Linked DNA regions of Homo sapiens: regions 1 and 2 are each linked to region 3. Evidence: promoter capture Hi-C in 16 types of primary human blood cells and fetal thymus (Javierre and others, 2016). All regions are on one chromosome and are shown on one strand. Each heading gives the region's core, a stretch centred on a gene start or on the middle of the fragment in contact. The rest is flanking DNA. Distances are from core to core; before and after follow the strand shown.

Region 1 (4,753 bases), core at 171-2,670, 660 kb after region 3:
ATATCTACACTGCATCTATGGTATGTTAATATTATTACTAGAGTAAGCTATTATTATTATTTTAAGAATTCTAGAAGCCACTTATTCTGTTTATTATCTTTTTAAAGTAAGAATTTTATTCCGTATTCTGTTATTTCTTAAACATACTAAAGAAAACTATAAGGCAGTCTATTTGGCTTAAATTACTACTTCCTATTAAACATGTAGTTTGAGTAAATCACTCAACTTTTCCGAACATAAGTATATTAATCACAAGAATGGAAAAACTAATACATACTTTATAAAACTGCCTTGAGGATCCAGCAATAGAAATAAAAGAACTTGGAAAAGGAGAGTTCGACAAGGGTAAAATTCTCATTATTATAATTAAAGTCAAAAGCTTCAGTTAACAGATAAATAATGTTATTGGCTGCAGCATTCCCTTCTGTTTTTCTGCTTTCTATTAGGTTAGAGTGACAGACTCTCCAACCTCCAACTGGTTAGTGATTGGTCTTGAGAAAAATCCTCAGCACTCTCTCTCGAATCTGCTTTGTCCTGACTCCATAGATTACAGGATTGAGGGCTGGTGGGACAACCACATACAGGTTGGCTAATATAATATGTATATACTGTGGGATATTATGGCCAAAACGATGTGTCAAGAATGAAAAAAATGCTGGTGTAAAAAAGGCTAAGATAACACCAATATGAGAACCACAGGTGTTGAGAGCTTTGAGTCGAGCTTCCCAGGAGGGCAGGCAGAAGACAGCATACAGGATCCTGACATAGGAGAGAATAATAAGGATAACATCCAGTAACAAGAGAGATATGTTGCCAAGGCCAAACCTAATGTTGACTTTGATGCTGGCACAGGCCAGACGGGCAATGCCCATGTGCTCACAATAAGTATGAGGGATGATACGATGCCCACAGAAGGGCAGCCTCAGAAGGAGAAACACCAGTGGAACAACCATGTACAGGCTCCTCAGGACAGCAATGCCTGCAATGAGGCTGATGATTTTGCTGGTGAGGATCATGGTGTACCGAAGAGGTTTGCAAATGGCAATGTAGCGGTCAAAGGCCATGGCCACCAACACAATGCTCTCCATAGCAGTGAAGAAATGGATGAAGAACATGTGAGAAAGGCAGCCTCCAAAAGATATTTCTTTGGTATTGAACCAGAAGATGCCCAACATTTTGGGGATGGTGGCTGTAGACAAGCCCAGGTCAATGGAATCCAACATGGCCAGGAAGTAGTACATAGGCTCATGGAGACTCTGCTCAGTCTGGATCACAAACAAGAGAGCAGTGTTTCCCAGGAGTGCAACAAGATACACAAAGAAAAAAGGGACTCCAATCCAAATGTGCACATCTTCTAGCCCTGGGATACCCAGCAGTAGGAATGAAGAAGGATGGAACTGGGTGTGATTAGACGTAGACATTCTTCCTGCCATATAAAGCTGCTGGGCACACCAGCGACGATTATAATATTCCTATTAGTAATTCTTGTTCCACTTCTTCTTTTGTTCAGATTTCTAGTCAAATTCACAATAACATATTAATCTTTCTTTATATATATTCATGAGTAAGGTAAAATACTCTCCACAATTTCTCCTAGCCTCTCCTGAGCAACATTGGTACCAGGAATAGAACCAGTCTTATTCTACTGCCCCTTCACCTAATATCAAAGACTAATATAAAAAGAAATGGCAGAAGAATGTCATCTGCCAAATAAAAATGCAAAATCTGGAATTTAGCCAGAACTAAATGAGAAAAATAAAGTTCCAGGGTCAGTGTCTATAGAAATGTTACACATATTTTTGCTTCACGATCAAGGTATTTGTAATCTCAACTATTCCTCTATTTGGGAATCAAAAATGTAGTGTGTAAAACCGTTTCTGTGTTGTTATGCATTTTTACAGGTATTTGTGACTACTAGACTGTATACTTCTATATACAATTTAGACTATACTGTATACAATTTGGGACTACTAGACTGTATACTTCTGTATACAATTTAGGCTGTATATACTGTATACAGTTTGTGACTACTAGACTGTATACTTCTGTATACAATTTAGACTGTGTATACTGTATACAATTTGTGACTACTAGACTGTATACTTCTGAGAGAAGAAACAATTTATCTTGCTCATATGCAGGAAAAAGATCTGCTACATAATAGTTCTCAATTTAAAACCTCCACAAATAGACATTGATTACAAGGAGGCAAAACTGTGGGTAATTTTAATGTCATATTTTAGGAAATAAATAATTTAGTTTCCATCACACCTGTGTTTGAGAAAAGAAGCTTATCCATCGGATTTGGAAAATGGGTAAAAACAAGGAAAAGAAAATACTTGACAAAGAGTATTTTGCAGCTATGATGGAACATGGATGAAGAGATAATTTTAATCTAGATAATCCTATTATTTGGAGAGTGCATAAATACACGCATTCAGTAAAGAAACTGTTTATATATAGGCCAGCTTTTTCTGTGGCAAGGAAACTAAATATTCTGGGCTACAAAATTTTCAAATATATCTCAGTCTTATATTCATGGGAAGAAAGTAGAAGCCCTTTGGATGACCTACAGTTTAGCTGCTACTCAAATTCTATCCCAGCTGTTTTGTCTCTATGGATGTCTCCAATATAGTAAATCCTGAATTTACAGATAGTAAATCCTGAATTTACGGATAGTAAATCCTGAATTTACAGATAGTAAATTCAAAATTTGAAGCAAAAAGTTCATTACTGCGCAACTTACTTTTACTTGGGAAAAACTAGTTTTACAGATAATGCGGAATTGGTTAAATGTGACGTGGCAACTACACAAAAAGCATTGATTACAATTTAAGAATACTTGAACATTGGGGGAAGTCAGAATTGAGACGTACGCAGCAGAGATAAAAGTGTGTGAATGTCAGCAAGTTCTACTTTAATCCTGTAACAACAAAAATGCATTGCTGGTAGTACCTATTTGAAGCATACGAAGAATAGCAAAAATGAGAGATTATTTGATAATTTGGGAAATTATTTCAGAGAGAGAGAGAGAGAGAGAATGTGTGTGTATAAACTTGGGTGAAACTATCAGAGATAAGGGTATAAACTTCCTGTTTTTCACTAATTGAGAATACACAAAATAGGCAGCGAAATACCTTTCACAATTTATCCCATCAAATATTGAAGAGGTTCTCTATGTATCAGTGGTAATTAGGAAGTTTAAATACAAAAAATGAATAAAACTGGTCATATATCCTTAAGGAAATCACCACGTAGTAAAGAAGATAAAATTCCAAACATGAAATTTAAGAACTGTACTGCAAGTGCTATGGTAGAAATGTGCACAGGATGTTTTAAATGTAGAGGTGAGTCAAGAAAAATTGTATAGAGGAAGTTAGGCTTATGCTGACTTACAGAGAAATTCTTCTGACAAAAAAGAAAGAAAATTTTATTCTGTATAAATAAGCAGGGGCAAAGTGGGAAAAAAAGCACAGTGGCCACTTAGGATATAAAAATGAAATCAGTCATCCTCTTCAATGGTCTTATCCAGAGATTCTTATTAAGTCTGATGTCTTGGTCATGTTTAGGGGCTCCATACAGCATGAACTGAAAAAATAAAAATATGGCTACATTCCAAGGATAGCAACTTATCCCATGTATCTCTGTGGATTTTAAAAGAAGATTTGGAAATTAATGCTTCCCTTCTCCCTAGGACAACATCATTTCCAAGTTTATAAATACTGATCAAAGCAACCAATCAATTAATTATCCAATAAATGTTTACTTAACCATTATTTCAACACATATTTACATATCTTCCAATCTCTGCTGGATTTAAAAATAAAATTGGTTCTCAGCCCCTGTTTTGACTCCCTAACTCTAAGGTCCTACATGGAATTATATCCAGCTATCCAGCAGCCACGTCCTCAGTGTGTCATCTTCTTAATCTACCCTATTGCACCAACCTCCACCACACCCTACCTATCCATATTCCCACATCCTGGAACAGATGAGCATAAGTAAAAGAGATAATGTACACCTGTTTTCTCATCTTTATCTAATCTCACAGTCTCATGACCAGCCTGCTATCATGTAACCTTATTCCATTTCTCAGATGTTTTATCACTCTAGCTCTGAGTCTATGTTCATAAAAGTCTATTCCTCAGGGCCATGCTTCTTCCTGATTCATTTATTTATAAATTAATTTAAAAACATATTTTTAAAATTTGTATTTTTAATTTTTGTGGGTACATATCATAGATATATATATTTATGGGTACATGAGATGTTTTGATACAAGCATGCAATGTGAAATAAGCACATCATGGAGAATGGGGTATCCATCCCCTCAAGCATCTATCCTTTGAGTTACAAACAATCCAAATGCACTCTTAGTTATTTTAAAATGTATAATTATTACTGACTATCTTCACTCTGTTATGCTATCAAATACTAGGTCTTATTCATTCTTTCTATTTTTTGTACCCATTAACCATCCCACCTCCCCCCAGTCCCCCACTACCATTCCCAGCTTCTGGTAACCATCATTCTATCTTCACCTATGCTATATTTTGTATGTTCTAGAAAATACAGAGAGCTAGTCTTGCTCTTTTGCTGTTCACATGTGTACATATATATATAGAGTCAGAAATAATAGCTAAAGAGATATGGGATATATTGGTACAATTTCTTCCTCATCAGCTTTCACACTTTACTTTTGCATCTGAGACTTTGCATGGTCATATGTGTGTGTAGGCAAAAATACAGTTTG
Region 2 (4,437 bases), core at 547-3,046, 710 kb after region 3:
TGCAGCCAGGAGGTGGCATGTTCAAGAGCACATCAACTACAGTACTAGAAGGAGGATGTATACTTGCCCTGGGGTTGTCTGGTTACGTATTCAGGTTTCTCAGGTGGTGGGCAGCGCCATAGAGCTCTCAGGATATTATGTCCTTTGTCTTTGGCAACCAGAACGGGTAGAGAAAGACCACCAGGTGGGGGCAGACATAGGTATGTCTGAGCTCAGACTCTCCTTGGGTGGAGCTTGCTGCAGCTGCTGTGGGGAATAGGGGTGTGATTCCCAGTCCAATGGAGTTATGTTCCCTGGTGGATTGTGGCTGCCTCTGCTGAGTCATACAGGTCACCAGAGAAGTGGGACAAAGACAGCAGTCACAGGCCTCACCCCATTCCCATGTAGCCACAGTCCTAAATGCTGGTCTCACTTCCATCATGCCCCACCTACCACACCAAGTGTTTCCAGGCAGCTGGTGACCAGTTCTGAGAACTTGCCCCAGACCGTCAGCCACCCCACTGAGAAAGCAAGCTGATTCAGAGTTTTTTGGCATCTCAAGGAGCCTGCAGAAGCAATCCAGTTCCTTCAAAGGGTCTGTGGATTATCTCAGCTTACCTGGCATGTTCCTGCAGTAATTCTTGGAGAAAAGTTAATGATGTGAGTCTCTACATGCTGCCCTGTCTCTGACTAGCCTCCTATTTGCCATCTTAATCTCAGTCTTGATTCTGTGTTTGTATTTTTATCTTTCTTGACTGAATAGTGTATAAAGAAATGTATCACACTATGATTTTTTTTCAAAGTAGCACATTTTTGGTTTTGTTTTTTTTCCTTTTTCTGTTCATTTTCTATCTTATTGAGTTCGGCTCATTTCTATTATTTTCTTCCTTCTATTTTTTGAATATGCTTTTCCCATCTTTTTCTAGATTTGTAAGGCAGAAGCTTATAGAATTGATTTCAGACTCTCATTTTTTTCCTAATAAAAATAATTAATATGCTTAATGCTCCATTCACAGCAATCTGGGCTTTTTCTACCTTGCTTCTCCAAATTCTTCAAGCTTCTATCTATTACCCAGTTCAAAAACCACTTCCATATTTTCAGGTATTTGTTGTAGCAACAACTCTACTCCCAATATCAATCTTCCTGGTACTGTTTTGTGCTACTATAACAGGATATCAGAGACTGGGTAATTTATAAACTATAGAACTTTATTTGGCTCACAGCTCTGGAGGCTAGAAAGTCCAAGGTCAAGTGACCTGCTTCTGGTGAAGGCCTTGTCACTGGGTCATCTCATGGCAGAAGGCAGAAGGGCAAGAGTGTATGTGCATGAGAAAGAGAGAAGAGAGAGAATTAGAAATGGAGAGTTGAATCTGCTTTTATAACAAACCCACTCCCACGATAGCAGCACTAATTCATTCATGAGGGCAGGGCCCATGTGACATAATCGCCTCTTAAAGGTCCTACCTCCCAATACTGTTGCATTGGGGTTTAAGTTTCCAACACATGAATCTTGAGGGACATTCAAACCATAGCAGCCATATTATACTGCCATCATTCTACTTTAAGTTATTGTGCCCTTCTTTATACAATTAATTCCCCAAAAGCAGAGATGAATAACATTTGATCTTTTCTCACAAGACCAAACAGTGATTGTCACTTAATCTGACTGAGCAGATTATTCTGTTATGTAAAACTTTTTAAAACTAGTTTGATGCACTAATACTTTCCACAAACCTTCTTACATGATTTCCCACATATTTAAATGACTTGTTTATGAAATTTTTCCTCTTTGGTCAGTTGCTTGACGATCTGATCAGTGCCTTGTTATTGCTTAGCAACGACTGTTGTATTGAGGTTTCCAAGTTTCTCCAGAACTGTTTTGCCAGGTCCCAAGCTGGCAGAACTGAATGCCTTTAGCGTCCTATTTCTCCTGACTATGCGGCCAATGTCATCCTCCATTATTTTGTTTCCAAATAAGCAGCCAGATCCTTAGTAGCTCATTGACTTTCAGAATTCATTGAGAACAGAAAGACAAGGTATCTTCTGGTATTTTGAGAAAATATATGTCCTTTGAAAAGTTAGCTTTAGGAGATACACCTAATGCTAAATGACGAGTTAATGGGTGCAGCACACCAGCATGGCACATGTATACATATGTAACTAACCTGCACATTGTGCACATGTACCCTAAAACTTAAAGTATAATAATAATAAAATAAAATAAAAAATAAAAAAAGAGAAAAGTTAATGCTAAACAGAGAATAGAAGTAAGAAAATGCAGTGTCTTTGAATTGGAAAAAGAAAGATTGTACTTCCTCTCCACCAACAAAAAGACAGAAGAAAGAGGAGAACAAATGAATTTTCTGACTTGAAGTTATAATCCTACGAGGGAAAAAATGCTGCTCAGTAACTGCAGGAGTTCTTGACCACTGGAACCTCCCAGGTGTCAGCTTTTTCACAAAATATTGGAATATTTGAATAAATCTGGGATTATCTAAGGGAGGGCAGTTGGGAAGACCAGTTGGGTCAGAGAAGCAATCATAACACATATTTAATATACCTTTATACTGATGGATGAAGCTTCAAATTGACAGTTGAGCAGATTGTCATTAAATAACGAAAAGTACCTAAGTTTTTATCCAAAGCTTAATTGTTCCTCTCTTTGCTCCTAAAACTCAACATGCTTTCTCTCTTAGTACAGAACCTCTGCATGTGTGTAGTTTTCACTGCCTAAAATAATCTTTTCATCCTTCTTTGCTTAGGTGATTCCTATTTTTCTTTCTTGTTCAACCTACTTAGGTTTACTTAAAATGACCTTACCCAACCTTCAATATTATGTTAGGCTGTCAGGCTCCACTGTAACAGGCTTCTACTGTAGCACCCAGAAAGTTTCTTTCTTTGAAATAACTGACCACAACTGTATTGAAGTGAGGCTCAATGCCTACTTTTCCATTATACATTATACTTCCTATTAATGGGGACAGATAATATTTACAAAGTACCATATATCAGGCACTATGATTAGTATTATTCATGTTACATCATTTAATAAATGCAATTAACATGAGATACATGCTAAGTTTATGACTATTTTCCGGAGGAGGAAATAGATGCACAAAGACATAAAAACAACTTGATAAAGGCTTCACACACAGCAAGTAGTGAAACCAAAATTTGAACCCAGGAAGTATAATTCCAGCATCAAGGTGTTAACTACCACTTCACCTTCATTTATGAAAGTACAAAACAATGTAGTTCATCTTTGTAAATAAGAAAAGCTCAATATTTATTACATGAAATATCCACCATACCTCTTTAACTGCTATTTCAATCAGAATTCTTACTTTCAAGCAACAAAAAATAATTCTAGATATTTTAAGCAAAGAAAAATTATTGAAAAGATGATGGATACCTCACAGAATCACTAGGAAAACAGAAAAGTAATAAAATAAAAGAAAATAAAAATACAAACCAAGTAACAACCAGGACCTCTGTAAAATTAATCCAGAGAACTAATTCTGTGCTGAAGTGTTATTGCAACCACTGCTGAACTTCAGATGACATGGTTTATATAAATAGTTCTTTTGTGTTTATTTCAGATGGTTTTCGAACATTGATCAAGTAACTATATATAATAGTGACCACTGTGGAAAATCATTTTGATTTAAAATTTTAGTAGTTAATACATATGATTCAGTTATAATTTTAGAAATTTTTGAGGATTTATGTCTCGAGAAACTTCTCTGAAGTTCAATTTACAGTTAAAAGCATCATAAAAGCGATTTTAAGTGAATGTTTTATAGTGTATTTTAATATAGTAGACATTATAATATGTTTTAACAGAATAAGTAATGAAAATAATGTTTTTCTAACTAACACACTCAATCCTTTTTGTTTGTTTGATAGCCCTCTTTTTACACTAGCATGTACTAGGAAACCATAGGTAGACAGTAAATGCAAACAAGAAAATAATTTTTCTACTAATGTACATACTGATATCAAAAGGACACAAGTCCTAACTTTTTTACATTTATAATATTGTCTTTCACAAGATTGTGGGCATAGCTCAACTAATGTTTACTGATTTATATTAATGATAGCAAAATGTTAGAATACGGTAACTTTTTGAAGATGGCCGAATAGGAACAGCTCCAGTCTACAGCTCCCAGCGTGACCAATGCAGAAGATGGGTGATTTCTGCATTTCCAACTGAGGTACCGGGTTCATCTCATTGGGGAGTGTCAGAAAGTGGGTGCAGGACAGTGGGTGCAGCGCACCGAGCGTGAGCCAAAGCAGGGCAAGGCACTGCCTCACCCAGGAAGCGCAAGGGGTCAGGGAATTCCCTTTCCTAGTCAAAGAAAGGGGTGACAGACAGCACCTGGAAAATCGGGTCACTTCCACCCTAATACTGTGCTTTTCCAATGGTCTTAGCAAATGGCACACCAGGAGATTATATC
Region 3 (4,845 bases), core at 722-3,221:
GATACCTAATAGAATATAGGAAGATTAAAACAATTATTTTCTTGTTATCCATGCATAGTTTTGTACCTGATTTCCTTCCTTTCTTTCCTTCTTTGGAAAGCTGCACTAGCTTACTTAGAAAAGAACCGCTTTATGTTCTTTTATCTTTTTTCTTTTAAACTCAGAATAAGTCGGTAGCGGACAGTCTCATCTGTTCAGAAGATCCCCCACTTAGATATAAAAGCAAAAGATCTAGAGCAAAATCTGCTTCCAGCCTTGTAGCAGTGGAGTCCACATATAAAATCTAAAAAATAAGGATTCTAATTTAAATTAGACATGGTAGAAGTTGAATCCAAAGTCATATTTCTTTGTGTCCTCTTTATGAACTGTAGCTTCCCTGTCCAATATAGTGGCTGCTGAACTGAACTGTCCAATACAAGGACATTAAACATTTAAATATAAATTAACTTAAAGTAACTGAAATTGTAAATGCAGTTGTTCAATTACACTACCATCATTTCAAGCGCACAGGAGCCATATATTCCACTTTAGCCATTTTATGGTATTTTATAGAACATCGCCATCAGTTTAGAAAAGTTCCCTTGGACAATTCTGGTCCATACAGATATCACAACATTCCTGTGAGTTGGCTATAGTCTCCATTTTGAAGGTTAATTAAGTAAACCTCAGAGAATGAAAGAAACTTCAAGTTTTCTACTTTGAAACTTGAAAACCTAGGTTTTTAATCCAGCTTTGTTTTACAGCAAAGGAAATGCTCAAAAGTACATTTCAGGCAAATAAACAATTTTTTCCTCTTTCTTAAATATGGTCAGACTGATAGAGTGACCTACATGTGTCCAGGCTGACACAATGGAACTTGTTTGTTGATTCTCTGACTATATTTAAATATTTTTTAAGGTCATTTGTCATGGACTCAGAGTAAATCTACAATTTTAATAATTTTTTCTTTTTTATGGCACTGATTTTTGTTTATTATTGTTGCTGCTTTTCTTTCTTTTTTTTAGGCAATACATCTCAATATCTCTCAATATCTTTTCAGAGAAAAGAGTCTAAGCATTCTGGTATGAATCTGTTGGGTCTTGACACTGTAGATGATGGGATTCATTAAAGGTGGGAAAAGGATGTAGATGTTGCCAATGAGAACGTGGGCCACGGGGGAAAGGTGCTTGCCAAAACGGTGCACCATTGTGAGGCTAATGATAGGGATGTAGAACACAAGGACAGCACAGATGTGGGAGATGCAGGTCTGAAATAATTTATGCCTCTCTTCCTGAGAGGCAACTGCCAGGACTGACTTAAGAATCAGGATGTAGGAGAAAAGGATGAGTATAGCATCCAACAACAGTATGCAAATAACCAGCATCAGGGCATAGTAACTATTGAATCGGATGTCTGAACAGGCTAAGCGGAGAAGATCCTGGTGCAGGCAGAAAGAGTGAGAAAGGATGTGGAAATGACAGTAATTAAAAAATTTCAGACAGATGATGGGGGGTGTAATAAAGAAAAAACTCCTACCTATTATAGTGAGCCCAATTTTGATAATTCTGGAATTAGTCAGGATGGAGGAATAACGTAGTGGATTGCAAATTGCAATGTACCGGTCAAAGGCCATAGTGAGGAGGACAGAGGACTCCATGAAGGACAGACCATGGATGAAATAGGACTGGGCAATGCAGGAATCCAAGCTGATCTCTCGAATGATCCCCCACAGGATCCCCAGCACTGTGTACACAGTGGACAGCCCCATGCACAGGTCAGTGAGGGCCAGCATGGACAGGAAGTAAAACATAGGCTGGTGCAGGCTTGGCTCAGTCCATATCACATGGAGAACCATGCAATTGCCCAAAAGCACCATGGCATAGATTGAGGAGAAGGGGATGGAAAGCCAGGGGTATTGCTGCTCCATGCCAGAAAATCCAGTGAGAAGAAAGGAAGAATTCGTGCTGGTGCTAGGGCTTACTGAAGTAATCATTCTGGAACTGAGAAACATGTGAGAGTATTTTTTCAAAGGAAATGTTTCAATTTCACCTGAATACAATGAAATTTCTAAGTAAATGAAATACCCTAAAACTTACTGACTTAAAAAAAACAGCTGAGAAATTCTGTTTCTTTGAGACATAGTATCCATTGCCTTTGAGAAAATGGTCTTCTTTTGATGTCATTTAAAAGTCATTATTTTTTCACTGTCTGGATGTGAACATATCCTTAGAAGCCATAAGCAAAAACAAATAAGGAAGAGATTAGTAAAAGGAGAAGGCTAGTTTTAAAAAAATACGTTGCTTAGACATTTTCCCAAGGATAGTGGTAAAAATTTTATACCAGTAAAGAGCCGAGGTTCTTGAAAAATTATTTTCTTCTCTCCAATTCATTAAACATTCGAAGTGAAGAGTAATCTTTGGGCTTTAAATATCATAAGTCTATTAAATAGTCACTTTTCCGTCATTTTCCATTTTGTGCCGTCTCCAAGTATATTTTTTCTCCAAATACTATTTAATGAAGATACTCCTGTTTTCTCCCCCTCCAGATGACGTAGCCAGCAATTACTTTTTCTTCATTGGTGATAAGCAGACAGGAATATTTATGCATGAGACCTTGGGTAAATGATTTCTCACTGGAGCTCTGGCCTCTTGAGATGTTCAACTCATTTGTGCCTTTGTGATGTAGAGAATTAGATTGAAGACACTGAGCCTTTGATAGCAGCTCAGTGCTTCCCATTCCTTTATTTATTCAGTTAATGAGCTGATTAACTATTTATTCAATATACATTTATTCAATGTATTGGCCAATTGTGTTTTCTTTCTTAGAACCTGCAGTTCTACAGATCACAAAGCCAGGCTCAAACAAGCAAGCTTATAATTTCAAAAGCCTCATGGTAGCAGAATCAATTGGCTTCTTCTTTACATTGTTTGCCTGCTTTAAGTTCCAGACCTGAGAATCATCATAAGTTTTTTTAAAGCTCTAATAATGTAAACAGATGTTCAAAAGTCCATACTTTCATGTTTGATTGAGTAACTTCGAGATGTTAAAGTAACTTCAGATTTGGGCTGCCCTTTATGTCCTACTTTTCAGCTTTGTCTTATTAGCCTCACAACACAGTTCCACAGACTTTCTTCTCAATGTACTCTCTATACTACACTGACGTCTTCTAGCAGTCTAACCATTGTTTTTCTTGCCCTGACTCCTTCTCAGCATTGAATAACTTAGCTCACTATTTTTAATACTTTTTTCTCCATAGAATGCTTGAAGTTTCTTCGTTTCTTGCAGAGGATTTTTCAGTCTTTTGAATACGTATCTTCTTTCATTTCTCTAAATCGAATTTCTCTTCTTTCGTAAAATTTTTCTCGAAATGTTCTATCTGCCTAAATTATTCATCATCTTTTCCTCAATTTCTTCCTACCCTTTTTAAAACGATCTTGCAACTCAACAATCACTTTTCAAGAAGTTTCTTAAGACAAATTTATCCATATATCTATTATTTTGGTATCATGTTTCAATTTTAAATAAAACTTATAATTTTGTATTTATTAGCTAAATATTTAACTAATATTTAAACTAAATATTTAACTAATATCTCTGTTACAAACTAAATTCTCAGTTCCTTAATGTGCAGACTATGTCAACTTTTTCTTATTATTTGAAACTAACATTTGCACCTCTGATTCCTGACCACTCCTGAGAGCTCAAATTCATGAATACAACTGGCTATTTAATATATTCATCTGAGTGTTTAATCTTAAAATAAGAATGATGCCAATAAAGTACTTGATTTTCCCCCCAAAATCTATTTTCTGTCCCTTTTCTCCTAATATTATAAAGTGACTCCACCAATAACACAATTGCATAAGACAAGTCTTGAGTCATTTTTAAAATTTTTTATTTCTCTCTTTCCTTCCCTTTCCTCTCTCCATCAAATCTTTCATCAATTTCTACCATTTCTACCAGAAACACATCCCAGATAGGCCCACTTTTACACATTGCCCGTCTTGGTTTATAATATCATTGTTTCCCTGGCTACTATGATAATTTATTAAATTAATAATAATTTAATATTATTACTAGCTAATATCATGATTTATCTGTTTGTCCTCTAAAAAATGTATTATCTCCAGGGAAACCAAATTGCTTTTCTACAAACATCTACTAAATCACACAAACCTTTGTTGAAAAAACTCTTTGATGGTCACTTACCCATTGCTCGTAATGTAAAATACAAATTCTTTATCATAGTCAAAAAGCCTTGTATAACGTGGCTCACCTGCCTCTTCTATTACATCTTTAGACCACTACTGCCTACACTCCTTAATATTTAGGTATCTTTATCTTCCTCAAAACAAGCTAAGTACATGCATGTCTCAGGATCTTTGCCCATGGTCTTCTCTGTGCTCCGAATTATCTACCCCAAGTATTTGCACAGCAATTCCTTTCACCATTAACTTTTGAGTTAAAATGATTACTTCCTCAGGGGGATTTTTCTAATACTGCTCCCCACCTAGATTATCTCATTTCTTCAACCCCCTTAACTAACTTACTCTCATCACAGTATACTAGTTTATATTTATACCACTTATTATACACTGAATTTCCATTAGATTCATTAGAGGCTGTAGAAGATTAGGAACCATATCTGTTTTTTGCTCAAGAATATGAAAAATAAGGGTTAGCATAGAATGGGCACTTATCAAATAATTTTTAATTAATTATTCTATGAAATAAGAGCTAGACAATCACAGAGATATAAAGATAATATGAATGTGAACACTCCTATCAAAGTGTGTGTAAAATCATCTGTGTACACTTAGTCTTTTCTGACCTTTGGCCACCAATTGAGTCATCATATACCAAGTT

What was found. Contacts are between HindIII fragments. The CHiCAGO score rates a contact against its expected background, and 5 or more counts as called.
Region 1: the fragment with the promoter of OR52E8 here is called in contact with the fragment with the promoter of OR51V1 in region 3 in 4 of 17 cell types (naive CD8 T cells, activated CD4 T cells, neutrophils and 1 more); the score reaches 7.2 in naive CD8 T cells.
Region 2: a contact is called between a fragment that was not itself captured here and the fragment with the promoter of OR51V1 in region 3, in 3 of 17 cell types (naive B cells, monocytes and neutrophils). The highest score is 7.4, in naive B cells.

The regions. Positions count from the first base shown.
Region 1 is chr11:5,856,270-5,861,022 of GRCh38, forward strand. It overlaps OR52E8 (olfactory receptor family 52 subfamily E member 8), which reads right to left and starts at 1,421. Exons shown (of 1, transcript NM_001005168.3): 1 at 480-1,421. The coding sequence starts at 1,421. The coding sequence ends at 480. The HindIII fragment of the contact is 1,911 bases long and covers 378-2,288 here.
Region 2 is chr11:5,910,386-5,914,822 of GRCh38, forward strand. The region is part of intron 2 of LOC112268071 (a long non-coding RNA gene); the gene reads right to left. Among named protein-coding and RNA genes, the nearest start is that of OR52E5, 19 kb to the left of the region's middle. The HindIII fragment of the contact is 1,523 bases long and covers 1,036-2,558 here.
Region 3 is chr11:5,198,711-5,203,555 of GRCh38, forward strand. OR51V1 (olfactory receptor family 51 subfamily V member 1) reads right to left here and starts at 1,972. Exons shown (of 1, transcript NM_001004760.3): 1 at 1,025-1,972. The coding sequence starts at 1,972. The coding sequence ends at 1,025. The HindIII fragment of the contact is 3,813 bases long and covers 1-2,847 here.